Linked DNA regions of Homo sapiens: regions 1 and 3 are each linked to region 2. Evidence: promoter capture Hi-C in 16 types of primary human blood cells and fetal thymus (Javierre and others, 2016). All regions are on one chromosome and are shown on one strand. Each heading gives the region's core, a stretch centred on a gene start or on the middle of the fragment in contact. The rest is flanking DNA. Distances are from core to core; before and after follow the strand shown. Region 1 overlaps PRDX6-AS1 (PRDX6 antisense RNA 1). Region 2 holds the start of SERPINC1 (serpin family C member 1). Region 3 overlaps PRDX6-AS1 (PRDX6 antisense RNA 1).

What was found. The method cuts DNA at HindIII sites, captures the fragments that hold promoters and counts their contacts. A CHiCAGO score of 5 or more calls a contact.
Region 1: a fragment that was not itself captured here is called in contact with the fragment with the promoter of SERPINC1 in region 2 in 2 of 17 cell types (endothelial precursors and megakaryocytes); the score reaches 6.3 in endothelial precursors.
Region 3: a contact is called between a fragment that was not itself captured here and the fragment with the promoter of SERPINC1 in region 2, in 2 of 17 cell types (erythroblasts and endothelial precursors). The highest score is 6.0, in erythroblasts.

Annotation. Positions count from the first base shown.
Region 1 is chr1:173,435,226-173,439,116 of GRCh38, reverse strand. All of the region lies in intron 1 of PRDX6-AS1 (PRDX6 antisense RNA 1), which reads left to right. The region is part of intron 2 of LOC100506023 (a long non-coding RNA gene); the gene reads left to right. It also overlaps a transcript of TNFSF4 not described here. Among named protein-coding and RNA genes, the nearest start is that of PRDX6-AS1, 24 kb to the left of the region's middle. The HindIII fragment of the contact is 2,784 bases long and covers 499-3,282 here.
Region 2 is chr1:173,915,878-173,919,535 of GRCh38, reverse strand. SERPINC1 (serpin family C member 1) reads left to right here and starts at 2,209. Exons shown (of 7, transcript NM_000488.4): 1 at 2,209-2,317. The coding sequence starts at 2,277. It overlaps LOC124904457 (a long non-coding RNA gene), which reads right to left and starts at 3,036. Exons shown (of 2, transcript XR_007066739.1): 1 at 2,596-3,036. The HindIII fragment of the contact is 6,307 bases long and covers 1-3,658 here.
Region 3 is chr1:173,415,331-173,419,124 of GRCh38, reverse strand. It overlaps PRDX6-AS1 (PRDX6 antisense RNA 1), which reads left to right. Exons shown (of 2, transcript NR_125960.1): 2 at 503-1,336. The region is part of intron 2 of LOC100506023 (a long non-coding RNA gene); the gene reads left to right. It also overlaps a transcript of TNFSF4 not described here. Among named protein-coding and RNA genes, the nearest start is that of PRDX6-AS1, 44 kb to the left of the region's middle. RefSeq lists enhancers at 604-943, 2,752-2,801, 2,832-2,961. The HindIII fragment of the contact is 3,801 bases long and covers 563-3,794 here.

The DNA of each region.
Region 1 (3,891 bases), core at 641-3,140, 480 kb after region 2:
GGATCTGCAGAACTCAGATCTACCTTCCATGACAGCTTCTGGCCGTTGGCATACAGAGCTCTCCTCTCTCTCTGCACGTAGCTTGTCACTCACTCAGCTTGTATTGATGGGGTGGGGCAGTCTCAGATTGTTTTATAGGTGCAATTATTTAACTTCTTTAGATGAGGGTTGTGCTTTATGTTACTCTCTGAAGCCTCATTTATTTGCCACATGGTGGGTACATGAAGATACATGCTAAATGAAAGTTGTGCAAAGAGCTCTGAACTTGGAGGCAGATGACCTTGGACTTTTACTCAGTCTGTGTTACACATGAGCTTGGATAAGACTGATCTTTCAGCTTTCTTCAGACCTTAAGCATGAGATATAAAACAAGTAGAACATATAAATAAATAGAAGAAAATATACACAAATATTACATGATCTTTGAATTGTAAGACTCACTAAGCATAAATGCCACTGAAGAAACCACAAAGAAGAGATTTGCCAGTATGGAAAGCTTTTTAATTCTATATATCAGAAAATATAATAAAATTAAGAGGCAAATGACCTATTGAGAAAAATACTTCTACTTGGTAAGTCGAAGTATAGAAAATAAGCAAAAGATACAGTTCACAAAGAAAAAAATACAATCAGCTGATAAATATATGTGGTCAAAGAAGTACACTTTAAATCTACAGTGAGATACTTTTTAATCAGCTCAAATTTTCAGGGGGACCCATTCAGTCTTATATGATGCTGGTGGAAGTGGAAATTTCCTGGAGCAGTGTGTATTAAGAGCCATAAAAATGCTATTTCCTTGAAGTTAACAAGAAACTTGCTAGACCTGTATGAAGGATGCCAACTTAAAACAATTTATAAAATGTATTTATTTATTTTTTTCATGTTGTATAGGTTTTAATGTTTTTGAAACAAAATTAACCCATGGTAGACTTTGGTGGACAATGTGAGTCTTCTACCTAGATACTCTCTAATTTAGTCAGGGTTTAATTAAAGAAATAGAAGTACTAGGATAAAAATGTATTTGTTTTTACTGGGGGACATACCATGTTTCTGAATGGAAAGATTCAGTTTTGTAGGTATACAAATTTTCCCAAATTAATATTTAAGTTTAGTGCAATTCCAATAAAAAATTCTAGTGGGATTTTATTGGGGAGGGGCAGGTGTGATGGGAATTGATGATGTGATTTTAATTTTTCTTTTATGTTCTGAGTAAAACATTTTCTTGGGGTGCAGAAAATTTTATGATGGAAGAATAAGAAAACTAAGAATATTTTGAATAGGAACAATAAGTAGGAAAAATGTTTGCAATGGGATATTAATATGTATTATAAACCCACAGAATCTGAAGACAAGAGTGATGGACTGTATATAGATGGAACAGAATAGAGTGACCACATATGAACCCTAGTGTATGTGGGAATTTAGCATGTGATAAAAATGAAGAAAAATACAGTGAGGCAAAAGGTGGTTTTGGGTCAATTGAGAATCAGTTTGGGAAAAAGTAACAATAGATTTTTACCTAAAAGAGTACAAGAAAACAAATTCCAAATGGAATTAGTTAAATGTGGGAGAAGGACACTAAAAAACTTGAAAATAAAGATGAATGCCTATATAATTTTGTAGTGAGAAAGACCTTTGTAAGTACAGAAAAGCTGTAAAGGAAAAGACTGATAGAACTGGTTATATAATAACTTAAAGCTACAAACTAAATTAATAAGCAAATAATTAATAATAAGCTATTTACAACAAAAAAATTAACAAAGTTAAAGTACTTAAAAAAGAAAAAGCCGAGAGACCTTGTCTGGCCACCCTCAGGTTGGGTAATTCACAAGAATGACACACAGTACTCAGGAAAGCAGTTTTATTATGCTTACAATTTTATTATAGCAAAAGGACACAGATAATAAAATCAGCAGAGGGAAGCGACATAGGGCAGAGCCTGGAGGGGTCCATGCACAGGGCTTCCCATCTTCCTCTCTCTACAGAGTCATGGATTGTGTTACCTCCTGGTTACGATGTGTGACAATACATACAGAATACTGCCAACCAGTGATGCTCACCTGAGCCTTTGATGTCCAGAGGGTCAAAGCCCTCACCATAAATCACATCTCTAGACTGGTGGCCAAAGCCCTCAGGCCAACAAAGATACTCATAACACGCTGGGCATTCCAGGGGCCTAGAGATCACCTCCCGGTAGCCAAAAGCCCTAAGTTAATTCTTCACTACACAGAAACCTATCATTTTATCCCTATCAAGTTGACAAAGTGTACCAGATGCCATCAGCGCTGGGACACATTTCTGGACATTTCAGCGCTCCCCATTAGATTTCTAAGGGCAGTATTTGCAACTCCATGCCTGAGGGCTTAAAAAAAAATGCTGAAGGCCCTGTGCCCTTTTCCTTAAGTAGCCCTCACTTGGCAGTGGCTCACACCTGTAATCCCAGCACTTTGGGAGGACAAGGCAGGTGGATCATGAGGTCAGGAATTCAAGACCAGCCTGGCCAAGATGGTGAAACCCCACCTCTACTAAAAATACAAAAATTAGCCAGGTGTGGTGGCAGGTGCCTGTAATCCCAGCTACACAGGAGGCTGAGGCAGGAGAGTTGCTTGAACCCGGGAGGGAGAGGTTGCAGTGAGCCAAGATCATGCCACTGCACTCCAGCCTAGGTGACAGAGTAAGACTCCGTCTCAAAACAAAACAAAACAAAATGGTAGCCCTCACTTAATGACTTTTGGAGTTGTCATGTAAGACCTTAGCCCTTTAGGTGGGATAATGCTGGGGCATTTTGTATTATTTCCCAGAGTTTCTCTGCAAGATTAAGTTCCAGTTGCCCACTGTGATAGGTGGCTTAGTAATGCACCCTTTATTGGCTGCCTTCGCTTCTGGTTACTTCTTACCCATATCCATCCCTCTGTATTTCTGTATTACTCAGATAAACTGCCTGCACTTGAATCCTTGTCTCAGTGTCTGCTTCTGGGAGATAACAAACTAAGACATAAAATTTAAAATGAAATTCAGAGGTGGCATGAGTACATGGAAATAGATGTTCTTCTCTGCTCCTTTGTGGAGTGTAAATTGGTTCAACCTTTTTGGTGGATACTTGGGAAATATTTATCAAGTAGCTTTAAAATATGCATAGTCTTTAACTTAGTAATTCTACTTCTGAGAATGTTTCCTGAGAAATAGCTATGGATGTGTACTAGGTTTTCTTTTCTGTTTTCTAAACAATAAACTACTTTGAAAATGAGGAAAGGACACTAAATGACATTCATGGGTAAAGCTTTTATGTCTCATTATATTAAAGGTAGGATGCAACAAATAATTGACTACAGTTTTTCTTTCATAAGCAACTATTAATCTTTAAAAAACTTTCCTCAGAGGTAGATTAACTTTTATTGAATATAGCTGTTAATAAGAAATTTTAAATTGATTGCATACTGTATTAGTTGGCTTGGGCTGCCATAACAAAATACCATAGACAAGGTGTTTTAAACAACAGAAATAGAAATTTATTTTTTCACAGGTTTGGATGCTGACAGGTTCAAGATCAAGGTATTGGCCAGTTAGTTCCTAGTGAGGGCTCCTTCCTGCCTTGTAGATGTGTGCTCATGCGGCAGGGAGAGAGAGTAAGCTCGCTGGTGTCTCCTCTTATAAGGACACTAATCCTATTTCATTGGGGTCTACCTTTATGATCCCATTTAACATCAGTTACATCCTTACACCAAATACAGCCACACTGGGGGTTAGGAGTGCAACACATGAACTTTGGGAGGACACAATTCAGTCCAGAGCGTAAACTAATAAATAGCTCAGTTATTTAGTAAGTTTTAGAATGTTCTTATTTGCTCCTTTTGTTCTTTTCCAGCTCTCTGGGTCATATCTATTGATGAG
Region 2 (3,658 bases), core at 960-3,459:
GGAGTGCAGTGGTGTGATCACAGCTCACTGCAGTCTGAATTCCTGGGCTCAAGTGATCCTCCCACCTCAGCCTCCTGAGTAGCTGGGACTACAGGCTCATGCCACCATGCCCAGCTTATTATTATTATTTTCTGGAGATGGGGGTCTCACCGTGTGTGGGGTCTCACAGTTGGTCTTGAACTCCTGGCCTCAAGCCTTGGCCTTCCAAAGTGCTAGGATTACAGATGTGAGCCACTGCATCCAGCCTGGATGAACAAATTAAACACAAACCCTGATGTTATAGTTCTTAATTCCTTGACCTGGTAGTATCTGCATCCTAATCTTTTCCAGCGATGTTCACCAAATCACCTATATTTTTGCAGGGCCCCTCATCTGCCCTCCCCCAAGGACCTTCTTGGCAAGACACAAACCTCATAACTCCTATAAGCTGGAACAATAGGTCTCAACAGCATGTTCCTGAAACCTCAAGGTCTTTGTATTTCTGATTTCTCTTTGGACAGCTCTTCCTAAAGATATTCATATGGCCCCCTCCATCATTTCATTCTGGTTTCCTAACAATGATTCCTAAGGGAGGCCTTTCCTACCAAGTGTTCTCAGATGGTGCCCTCCCCACTTCCTCCCACTGCTTCCTATATCCTTGCCCTGCTATAGTTTTCTCTATGGACCTTATTAACATCTGACTGGCACGTTACATATTTATTTTTTAAATACTGATTTTTTTTTTTTGAGATGGAGTCTTGCTCTGTCACCCAGGCTGGAGTGCAATAGCACGATCTCGGCTCACTGCAACCTCTGCCTCCTGGGGTCAAGTGATTCTCCTGCCTCAGCCTCCTGAGTAGCTGGAATTACAGGTGCCCACCACCATGCCCAGCTATTTTTTGTATTTTTAGTAGAGATGGGGTTTCACCAGGTTGGCTAGGCCGGTCTCGAACTCCTGACCTCAGGTGATCCACCTGCCTCAGCCTACCAAAGTGCTGGGATTACAGGTGTGAGCCACCACGCTTGGCCTAAAATACTGATTCTTTATGTGATTGCTGTATGTCTCCCCCGAATGGAATCCCAGCCCCAAGAACAGTGTCTGCTGGCACAAGCAGCACTCGTGTATTTGTTGAACTCAAGTGGTTGAACAGGAGACTTTTCAATAGTCTTTAATCTAGGGTGACAGATGAGCCTCTGGGCATTCTGGGGCCCTTTGGGACAGTTCTCGGCTACTGTTCACACTGCACATGGAGGGCTTCAAAGGATCCAGGGTCTGAATCAGCCAAGAACTTAGACACAGCTTCAGTTCAGGAGAGATGTCCTCTCTCATGAACGAAGAGCTCTCGAAAATGCCTATGACTGCAACAACAACTACAAGGAGTCCTTGATCACACAGCAGGAGGCACATGCGCCCTGTGAACTTGGTGGCTGCAGTCCTTGTGATGGTGCTTTTGGCTATTTCAGAAGAGGGAAATGTAAACAAACCTGCCCTTTATCTCCACTAGTTTGAATTTACCCAATCTCCCCAATAACTAATAAAAATAACGATACACATAAATATAATTTAGTTTGTTTTTATTTCAGCAGTTGTACGTGGGTTTTTCACCTGCCCCGCATTCTGTCTCCTGATCCCCCAGTAGAGTTTTGCTAAGTATTTCCCAGCTGCTCACACCCCTTAGAAACGCGCTTGGCATGCACCCCGAGGCCCTGCTCTTCTCTCCCTGTCCCACCACTTCAGGGCTGCTGGGGAATGGGTCTCTCTGTGGGCCACAGGTGTAACCATTGTGTTTTCCTTGTCTGTGCCAGGGACACCTTGGCACTCAGATGCCTGAAGGTAGCAGCTTGTCCCTCTTTGCCTTCTCTAATTAGATATTTCTCTCTCTCTCTCCCTCTCTCCATAAAGAAAACTATGAGAGAGGGTGGGTATGAACCAAGTTTGTTTCCTTGGTTAGTTTCCTAACCAAGTTTGAGGGTATGAACATACTCTCCTTTTCCTTTTCTATAAAGCTGAGGAGAAGAGTGAGGGAGTGTGGGCAAGAGAGGTGGCTCAGGCTTTCCCTGGGCCTGATTGAACTTTAAAACTTCTCTACTAATTAAACAACACTGGGCTCTACACTTTGCTTAACCCTGGGAACTGGTCATCAGCCTTTGACCTCAGTTCCCCCTCCTGACCAGCTCTCTGCCCCACCCTGTCCTCTGGAACCTCTGCGAGATTTAGAGGAAAGAACCAGTTTTCAGGCGGATTGCCTCAGATCACACTATCTCCACTTGCCCAGCCCTGTGGAAGATTAGCGGCCATGTATTCCAATGTGATAGGAACTGTAACCTCTGGAAAAAGGTAAGAGGGGTGAGCTTTCCCCTTGCCTGCCCCTACTGGGTTTTGTGACCTCCAAAGGACTCACAGGAATGACCTCCAACACCTTTGAGAAGACCAGGCCCTCTCCCTGGTAGTTACAGTCAAAGACCTGTTTGGAAGACGTCATTTCAAGTGCTCTCCCTCCCACCCCACCTCTTGGGGTAAGGCCTTTCCTAAGCTACCCCTTGGGTCCCTAGCCTAAGAAACAAGGGGGATGTCATCCCTGGTGTAAAGATGCTGTGCAGGAAGTCAGCACTCACGGGATCCAGGGGACGCTCCAAGGGGAATCCCCAGGGCCTGCCATCCATCCGGGAAGAGAGCAAATGCTACCCATGAGGACCTCCTCACTCCCTTTTTGCTCTTTCTTCCACTCAGATCCACCCCACTCCACCCCCACCCAAATCCCAGTGACCTTTGACTAAAGGGCCAAAACTGCTTCCTTTTCTCACAATGAGAGTTGTCCCTCCCTCAATGCCACACACACTCCCTTCTTCATCTGAGTTGTCACAGGAGGCTAGAAACGGGGTGGTGGCACAACTGTCTTGGTTTTAATTTGTGCTTCATAGCCCTCCCAGGGTCCTCTCAGCCTCAAATTGCATTTCCAAATGTAGTTGAAGGACAGAGTGGGCAACCGAAGGCAGTGGAGATGGGAAGATGAATGGCAGGGTCCTCTCCTCTCTCTCTCTGCTTCTTCAGCCTGCCTTCCACATCTCCCTTGGTGCCGCTGCTTCTCTCCGGCTTTGCACCTCTGTTCTTGAAAGGGCTGCAGAACTGGACTCAGACCACGCAAGAAGGCAAGTCCCCCTCAGCTGCCCCAGCTTCCAGCCAGCCCCAGGCTTGCCCAACGGACCACGTCCGTGAATCTGCACTGGGTGCCTGTCTTTCTCTCCCAGGAGAAGATGGGAAGATCCAGTACCCACACACAGACCCCCTTGTGTACACGCAGGAACCATAAACCAGCTGGAGGCAGCCCCTGCCCCACCCTGTCTTATCTACAAAAAATATTACAAGAGACTTTATCTCTTGATTTGCTTCATCGAGTGTCCCAACTACCTCATTTTTTTAAAATGTGAAATTAGCTTCATTTACCTTCATTGAATCCATGTTGGCGACTATTAAAAATTCCAGGCAATAAAAAGGGATGAGAGCCTGAACTAAAGCAGTGGCAATAACTGGTGAAAGAGTAAAAAAACAGAACTGATTGACTCTGGGGTGAACTGATTGACTCTGGGGTTTGACTAAATGAGGAGGAGAGAGGGAGGAATCCAGGGTGATTCTCAGGTTTCTGTACGGGATTCACTGAGCCCACTCACAGGAGCAGGC
Region 3 (3,794 bases), core at 1,214-3,713, 500 kb after region 2:
CTCGTGATCTGCCCGCCTTGGCCTCCCAAAGTGCTGGGATTACAGGCGTGAGCCACAGCACCCGGCCAGGTTACTCTAACTCTTCTTATAAAGCCACCAGCCCCACCGTGGGGGCCACACACTCATGGCCTTATTTAATCTTAATTACCTCTCAAAGGCCCTACCTCCAAATGTCATCGATATGTGAATTTGGGAATTAAGTTTCCAGCACATGAAATTTGGGGGTCACATTCAAACCATAGCAATGCTTAACCTTAGAATACTGCCTGGCATCTGCCCAGGCTTCCACAGCCACTACCTCTGGGACATGTTGGGATCTCTGTTTACATGTAAGGCTCGCCATGACCATTACACATCTGTGAGTCAGTGTAGGGTCCTGGTGGAAGCCCGGTCTTGGAGTCCCTCCATTATGTTTGCTACCCTGGCTCTCCACCTTCAATTTCTGGCTTCTCATTTTGGACTATGATGATTTTCTTGTTGTTAATTTTTTTTTTTTTTTTAGTATGAAAGTTTTCAAGACGCCTACAAGTGGAAAATGCACTCCTCCCAGCCAAATCAAGCTTCGCCAGATTCCTTACAGCTGTGTGCAGTGAAATGACTAATGAAAGAGCCCTCTGCTGCTGGTGGAACTTTCACATATGGCACTGTTATGCCACTCAGCAGGACCCGACCCTGGTATTTACATATTGGATGTCACCCCAAAAGCCCCTGACCAGGGGGTTTCCGGGATGTAATAAGAATGCCACTCTGGGCTTTGGAAGGTGCACCGTATGCACACCCATACTATAGGGCAGGGGTTAGCATTTCAGACCCCTGTTCCTCCCTTGACAAGCAAGTGCTTTTCTCCAGGGAAGACGTTCAGGTTCATTCATAGATCCATTGGTGCCGTGGGCAGCTCAGTAACAATAGCTCTGCTGCCTACCAGCTGCTGGTGGAGGTGTTGAGAATACCTAATGAGGAAGTCAGGGCCCCTGCGTGCTTCAGCAGAGCTGGATGCCTGGCATGGCAATCAATGGACACAAACCTTTGGATAATTTCCGTCCTTGGCGGTGTGTTCTATAGCATAGGTATGAAGTGGGTGCTCTGGGAGCTCAGAAGAGGGGCTCTTCTCTTAACTTATGGGTGGCCAGGGAAGGCTTCCTGGAGCTCAAATGACTGAGTGGAGTCTTCAACATTAAAAAAAAAAAAAAGAAAAAAAAAGTGCTTCCCTCCCACCCCCAGTTAAAAAGGTAATACACCTCATTGAAATAATTTAAACTTTACAGAAATGTGTTCCTTTAAAGTTCAGAGAGTAAAGAGGAAGTAATAAAGCTGAAATAGTAGAATTTCTAATTAACTGGAGCCTGTAGCTTTCTTCCTGAAAAGGGAGTGGTGTGTGTGCATGTGTGAGTGTGTGTAGGTGAATCTGTAAAGGATGGAGTAGTACTAAAAAGAGGGAGGTGAAGACGGAGGTGAGATCTCATCTTTGTGCCCTGAACCTCTTTGTTATAATGTCAGGCAATGAGAGAAATCAGTACTCACCCTCTATGGGACTCTGGCTTTTTCAAACTTGGTTTTCTAGGTTTTGGTCTTGGTTATTGATGGCTTGTAACTTCAGAGTCTCATTGCTGGCCACGCTTCCACGTGGTTTATTAAGATGTTTTCCTAAACAAAATTGATCTCTCCCTAAAAAAATTATAGGTCTAGCTGTAAGATGTTAACAATATTTAACCTGCTACAATGCCAATAAGAGTTCTTGTTTATTGAAGACTTTTTTTGCACCAGCTATGTGCTAAGAGCTTTACATTTGTTACCTCATAACATCAACCCTCACACGAACCTTATGAAGCGGGTATTTCATTATTCCCACATCCCAGATAAGGAAGCTAGGATTATTATTGCTGCACCCGCAAAGCTGATAATCAGTGGGGCTCGGCCCCAAACCGAGGTGTCTCTGACTCCTGGGTCTATGCTCACAAATGCACCATTCCTCTGCATTATTTCTCAAAAATATTTGGCTATAGGAGCATTTTCAAAAGTGAGCACCACTTACCTCTTAGTACTGTTATTAGCATTCCGTGGGACACAATTTGGGAAATACTGCCCCAGGAAAATACTGCCCTGTCTTTAAAATAGAGATAATAATACAATCTCCATATTGTGATGATTAAAAGACGTTTCAGGAAATGGGTGCTGAGGATACTTACCTTCCACCAGGAATGTGTGTGTGCTTTAAAAATAACATTTGTGGCCGGCCACAATGGCTCACAACTGTAATCCCAGCACTTTGGGAGGCCGAGGCGGGTGGATCGCTTGAGTCCAGGAGTTTGAGATCAGCCTAGGCAACATGGCGAAACCCTGTCTCTACTAAAAATACAAAAATTAGCCGGGCATGCTGGCGCACATCTGTGGTCCCAGCAATTCAGGAGGCTGAGGTTGCAGTGAGCCAAAATGACATCACTGCACTCCAGCCTGGGCAACAGAGTGAGATCTTCTCTCTCTCTCTCAAAAAATAAATAAATAAATAAATAAATAAAAATAAAAAAATAACATTTATAATGTCCTCAGTGAAAGGAAGCAATGTTTTGGCCAGGATGATAATGAAGATATTGTTACTGGGCTGGGAGACCCTTGGGCCCTGTTGGGGAGGGCCCTGTAAGCTGCCACTGCCCACCCTCCACAGGTGCCCCTTTGGTCCCCTTCCCTCTCCTCTGCCCTCTGGTTCTCTCCGTCATCCCTCTGTAGTGCTTGTCTTTGTTCAGGAAGATGCTCCATTTGCCTGCCTCTGGGCAGGGGACTTGCTTTAAGCCACGCTGCTGCCTACTCAGGCCAGCCCAGGATGTCTCCTTTGCAAATTTGGACCATGTTCTGAGCCCCAGCTGTAGGCCAGAGATCTGTGACATATTGGGCAGACCACCCACAGCCCAGCTGCTGCCACTGCTTAGCCTACATGTGCCCAGAGAGCTACACTATCACCACCCACCACATCTCACCGACAGACCCTGCCTTTAGAGACAAGGACCAACCTAGGAGAGCCTGGGTTGGCTCTACCTCCCTGGGCATTGATTTGGACAGCTCACCAACTCCCAAAGGAGCCAATCTTCTGGCCTGGTTGGCTCCCAACCTACTCCCTGCCCCATCGGTTTGCTGCAGAGGCCCGGTGGACCTGGCAGTCCCACATCATGACATTCCTTTTCTTCCATGCACCAGTTTTGCACAGCTGTCATTTTTCTTTCATAATTTCATCAGTCCCACAGATACGCACATTTAGGCAAAAATACTATGAACAAAACAGACAAACAAAAACAGGCCCTCAACCCAGCTCCTGAATACCAGTTAGAAAGAGCATTTGCATTCTTCTCAGTAAATATCAAGCATACTAAAAAAGAAAACAAATTGTTTCACTTACATTCTTACTTGCACCTGTGAGGGAGCCATTGTTACTGTCATTTCATGCATGGAAAGGCTGAGGGTCACAGAGGTTAGCTGATTTGCCTAACGTCGCAGAGCTGAGAACACCAAAGTCAGGGCCAGGATAATTATCCAGTGTTTGTCCCTCTGCCAAGTGCTGCCCCTTGGACTTGGGGCCCTCAGGCCATCAAGACTGGGGCCCTTTGCTCCTGGAGTGTCCCAAATTGATAGTGTAAGGGTGGTTCCGATTGAGTCTGACATGCTGCTAGGAACCCTCTGTTTTCTTCCCTTTATTCTCTTCTATCTTCCTTTTCCTAAGGCTCATCCCACTGTCCATTCTTCATAGGCTTCAAGGTGCTCTTTGACTTTTCTCTGTAGCTAGGCCATGGGACTTTCAGGTGTCA